Linked DNA regions of Homo sapiens: region 2 is linked to region 1. Evidence: promoter capture Hi-C in human tissues and cell types (Jung and others, 2019). All regions are on one chromosome and are shown on one strand. Each heading gives the region's core, a stretch centred on a gene start or on the middle of the fragment in contact. The rest is flanking DNA. Distances are from core to core; before and after follow the strand shown.

Region 1 (2,623 bases), core at 42-2,541:
GGGTCCTTCCCTAGATGGAGCCCCCCAAACCTCCCCTCCCTATCTCCTTCGTTTGGTGGGAAGAATCCAGTAGCCTCAGAAGAAAAAGGGAGCAAGAGAAAAGTGAGAGTCAGTTGGTCTGGCCTTGGGATGGTGCGTGCGTTCCCTGCAAGCCAGCCAGCTCCAGGACACCTGGGCCCATGCCTAGGAACCCCCACCCCAACTCCCAGACCTGGGCACTGCAGCAGCAGCAAAACCAAGAAGAGGAGCAGCAGGCGCCCCAGGGTAAGCCCCTATGAGCGGCCACTGCTCCATGGCTGGGAAGCCAGAGGGAGACGCCAGGCTTGGGGAAACACGAGGCCAGCCTCTGGTGGTGGAATGAAGGGAAGCCCTGTTGAGGATGCCCCTGTACACCACTGCCACCACTCCTCCCCACTCCCCAGCCTCCGGCCATCCAAGGCCAGGCAGCCCAGCTGGCAGAACTCACCACAGAGAAGTTGCTGGCGGAGCAGTGATGCCCACTGAAGTTGCAGCTCTTAAGCATGTCGGCGAGCTGGTGGCCAGTGCGGTTGAGGATGTCTACCATGTCAGGCTCTGGGTAGCGCAGGCCAGCCGCACGGTGCCCATCCCGGTCTTTGGGGGGCAGCCCTGTCAGATTGGCCAGGTGGAAGATGTCGGCATCGCTGAGTGCCGAATGCCGGAAGCGGTTGATATTGCAGAGGGTGACAGCCGGGAAGCCCGCCACTGGGGCTGGGGCAGCGGGGTCCATTGCCACCAGGTGAGGCCGGGTCAGGTAGCCCCGGGCCAGGCCAGCCGCCTGGTACAGGAAGGCAGCCAGCGAGGTGAGTAGGGCCAGTGCCCACAGGGTTCTGCGCAGTCCGTGGGGGCCTGGGCCACAGGCCCGGCCCAGTCCATGCAGGGTGCTGGTGCTGGCAAAGGTGGCCAGGTCTCGGGGGGCTGCTCCAGGGGCAACAGCCCCGAGGAGGCTCTGCTCATCCCCTGCCTCCTTCTCCTTGGGTTTCGCATCCTCCTCAGCAAATTTGATTTTGCACACAATCTCGATCGGCATCTGTCCCCGGCTGCTGGGACTGGCCAGAGCCTCCCTGCCCTGTCCCTCCCTAGCCAGCAGCCCTGGTGCCCTCCCGAGTGGCAGTGGTGGCAGCGGCTGCTCTTCTAAACTCAGGGCAAGCGGGAAGAGGACAGGGACAGGGTGGGGGCCCGAGGTGGGGGAGTCACTCCCACTCCCAGCAGCTCCGCAGCCCTGGTGCTGCCTCTGCCGCTGCTGCCTCTGCTGCCGCTTGTCTCTCTCCTCGATCGTCTCCTTGTGGCTTCCCTTATCAGCACCAGCACAGCTGTCAGCCCCTGCGTGTGTCCCTGCGAGCGAGCGAGTGAGCGAGGGAGCGAGCGCTGCTCCGCCACGCCGCGCAGCCCCAGCCGCTCCGCTCAGCATGTGCTCCGGAGCCCTCCCCACGCTTAATAATTCAGGACATGTCAACAGCGTTTCACCGGCAGCACGGGCGTCAGGAGCCAGGCCAGGGGAGGGGGCAGTCCCCAGCCCAGGACAGAGATCCCAAGACTGGGGCTATCCCCCAAACTCCTGCTGCACCCTAGCCGCTCACTGGGTCCCCAGATCTCCCCACTTCCTGGCCACCCAGGGAAGGGTGCCGTGCCCAGGGTCCTCAGCTCATTCTTTGCCACTTTCCTGGCCCACACCCCATGAAGGGTCAGCCAACTCTATCCCCCCACCTCCTGGCCTCTGAGACTCCTGACTCCAGCACCCAGCCACCACCTGATCCCACTACCCGACTCACAGCAGCTTCCAGAAACTCCTTGAGAGAGCCACTTGTTTGAATGACGGAGGGAGGGGGGCAGAGGAGGGCAGGCTAGACAGACCAGGGGACAACTGTGACTTCAAGATTCTCAGCTTCCCTGGAGCTTTGCTCCAGACTTCAACACCCACCATGCCCCTGCCCCCTCTGGGAGGCTGGCTGCCCTCACCCTCATTTTGCCCCCAACCCCAATCTCAGTCATTCATATGTCTGGGACAGACAGCACCCTGGCCAGCTTGCATATCTGTGGCCACTTTGCTTCCCCAAATGTTCCCCAAATCCCTTGCCACAACCAGGCTTCGGGGGAGGGCTGTTGGGTAAGCAAGCCAGGGAGCAAAGGGGAGGTGTGCTTCCGGGGTGCTCTATATGTAGGGGGACAGGGCATGCAATGGAGGGAGAGGAAGAGCCCCAGTGGGGGCGTGGAAGGGAGCAGGAAGATGTGCTGGGCGTCAATGGGAGCGAATGCTCTCCTAAAGAAAGGGGTTTGAGGGGTGCCTGGCAGAGTGGGGCAGGAGAGCCCTAAGGGGTCTGCTGTGTTCTCGTGGAGGGGAACAGGCATGTGGGCCATCATCATAGGTGGGGGTGGGAGCCTCAGTTGACTGGCCAGGAGGGGATGCATCCATGCCCCCAGGGTGGGGGTGGCAAGAATCAGTGCTTGTGCTCTGGGGCCCCATCCGACAGCATGTGCCCTCACGGGGGAGGAAGCCCTTGTCCCCGGGAGGAAAGGGGGGCTGATTAATCGGGGCGCTAATGAGCAGCAGGGAGAGGAAGCGTGGACGGGCGGGGGGAGGTGGCTCCATCGATCCAAGCCGCAG
Region 2 (2,623 bases), core at 91-2,590, 80 kb after region 1:
TATGGGCGGGGGACAAGCACTGGTCCATAGCATCCCCCTTCCATGCTCTGGAAACATCCACTCTGGAAGCTCAGGTAGACATGGTCCAGGAGCTTCCCATTCCAGCTCCACGTGCCCATACCTCACCTGTTTGCACCACCACACAGAATCCAGGGCCCTCCACAGCACCCATGCAGGCACACACCTGCATGTGGATTCTCAAGCACTCACCTCCATTCATGCCCATGGGGCCCTGGCTCGGGCTCCACCTCCTCCTACCCTGGACCCTGTTCACACGTGGCCAACCATAGGCCTCTTCCACACCCCACCTAGAGCTGACCACATCAACCCTGCCACGGCAATGGCCTGCAGGGAGCTCTGAGCCATCCCTTCAACAGTGCAGCCTGGACCAGAGGAGCTGGCCCCCTCCTTCGGACATGGACTCCCCTGTTAAGGAGCTGATCGGAGTGTCAATCTCAAGTTTAAATCATGGAACTGAAGGACACCCTTTCCCCCAGGAGGCTTTTCTCCACAGGAGGAGAAGAACTTCCACCCCAGAATTCCCTGAGAGGTGGGAGTGGGTCTCAGGCTTGGCTTATCAACCGCTTGCTGCCCCTTGACCTCTGACCTTCCTGTGGGGAGCCTCTCTACCTTGACACCCCATTCCCTGCACTTGGCTCTTCGTCTCACTTCTGGGGCCGGGCAGCCGAGAAGCCAGGGCACCTGGGAAGAAGGCGGCGGAACCAGTATCCAGTACCTTACCCGCGTGGCCTGGGCAGCCCTTTTCTACCTCTGAGCACCCCGCCCCTGCCGGGCGCGGCCCCCACCTGCCCTTTACCTCCGACCTCCAGCACTGTGAGCACCGCCTCGCAGGAGGCCCGGCCCCGCTCGTTCTGGGCCATGCAGCTGTACACGCCGGCGTCCTGCGCCCCGCAGCGCCGCAGCCACAGGCAGCTGGGCTCGGGGGCCGGCGCGGGCAGGAGCTGCCCATCCCGGAACCAGCGGAGGCTGGGCTGGGGCGTCCCGCTCACCACCACCCGCAGCCGCACGTCGCTGCCCGCGCACACCGCCGCGTTCTTCAGGGGCCGCAGGAAGACTGGCGCCCCGGCCACGGCCACAGGAGCCCCGCCGCCGGCCCCCACCTTGGCCCTTTTCGGGGGCACTCCGGGGCTGGGGGGTGCCCTCGTGCCCGCATCCTCGCCTCGCGTGCCCCGGGCTTTCTGCATGGCCACTGAGAGCTGGGCTGGGGGGACGCCGGAACTGGGCGGCCACGGGGGCACCCGCGGGACGGTGCCCTAGGAGACAAGTCTGGGGGGCCGGCGGCCTGCCTTCCTGCTGCCCGCCCGCCTTCGGCCTGTGCTACCCAGAAGGTCACCGGGGCGGCCGGCGATTGCGCCTGGGGGCTATTTTTAGGCCCCCCGGCTCGGGTTGCGAGGGAGCCGTGGAGGGAGGGGGCAGCAGGGGAGGGACTTGACTCCACTTGGCTCCTTCTCTCCCTCCAGGAGCCCCCATCGCCGGCCCGGCTTAAGGGAGTCCCTCGGTATTTGTTCCAGGCTTTCCCCTCCGTAGTGTGCCTGGCCCCCACACGACCCACTGCAGGGAGTCAGGTTACCCCTGGGCTCAATCCCATTTCCCTTCCTCCCTCATCTCAGACCCCTCATCCCTGCCCGGCTTCGCTGGGAGGGGAAGAAGAGGAACGGTCCTGGTGAGATGCCTGAGAGGTGGATGGGGAGGCAGGCCCAAGTGGAGGTGAGCAGACAGCTCCGAAGAGGGACCATGGCCTCCCCCAGCGCCTCCATTACAGCTGGCGAACAGTAAGACCAGGAGCCTGGGAGTCAGGTGGATTGGGGCCTCCACTGCGCCCTGCCCTTACTTGCTGGGTGACACCAAACCTCTCTCAACCTCCAAGTCCTCATCTGTAAGAATGGGTGGTGGAATAGGGTTGCAATAGGCAGAAAAGAGTGGGCAGGACATTCCAGGCAGAGGGAACGGCATGAACAAAATGAGCCTGATGAAAACAAAGGCGTCCTGGGAATTAGAGAGGTTTGGAGGGATTGAAGCGTAGTGGGTGGGGTGAGTGGAAGAAGGGAGGTGGGGCCTGGAGAAGGCTTTGTTTGCTAAGGCTTTGGTTTCTCTACCCTGAAAGCAGGGGGCGCCACTACACAGCTTTAAGCGGCAGAAAAAACACGGTGGGAGCTGTGTCTTAGGAGGATCCTCTTGGCGGCCACAAAGTGGAGGATGGATAGAAATGACGGCCAGTTCAAGTAAAGGCCAGATTCCCAGCCTCCTTGCCCCACACTGGTTCAGCAGCTGAGCTGGGAGGAATCTGCACATTTAACAAATGACTCAACTGATTCTGATGTGCCTAAGTGTTGCACGTTGAGAAACATCAAGAGTCCAGATGAGACCTTTGTGATAGAACAGTTCTGTATCTTGGCTGGGCGCGGTGGCTAACACCTGTAATTCCAGCACTTTGGGAGGCCGAGGTGGGTGGATCACTTGAACTCAGGAATTCAACACCAGCCTGGCCAACATGGTGAAACCTGTCTCTACTAAAAATACAAAAAATTAGCCAGGTGTAGTGGCTCATGCCTGTAGTCCCAGCTACTCAGGAGGCTGAGGCAGGAGAATCGCTTGAACCTGG

What was found. Contacts are between HindIII fragments. The study calls those that stand out against the background at their distance.
Region 2: a contact is called between the fragment with the promoter of SPEG here and the fragment with the promoter of ASIC4 in region 1, in 3 of the 25 tissues and cell types used here (H1 embryonic stem cells, neural progenitor cells and psoas muscle).

What each region holds. Positions count from the first base shown.
Region 1 is chr2:219,513,150-219,515,772 of GRCh38, reverse strand. It overlaps ASIC4 (acid sensing ion channel subunit family member 4), which reads right to left and starts at 1,291. Exons shown (of 10, transcript NM_018674.6): 1 at 467-1,291. The coding sequence starts at 1,048. All of the region lies in intron 1 of ASIC4-AS1 (ASIC4 antisense RNA 1), which reads left to right. RefSeq lists a silencer at 1,193-1,368. The HindIII fragment of the contact is 23,008 bases long and covers 1-2,623 here.
Region 2 is chr2:219,433,560-219,436,182 of GRCh38, reverse strand. SPEG (striated muscle enriched protein kinase) reads right to left here and starts at 1,340. Exons shown (of 41, transcript NM_005876.5): 1 at 818-1,340. The coding sequence starts at 1,205. The HindIII fragment of the contact is 17,008 bases long and covers 1-2,623 here.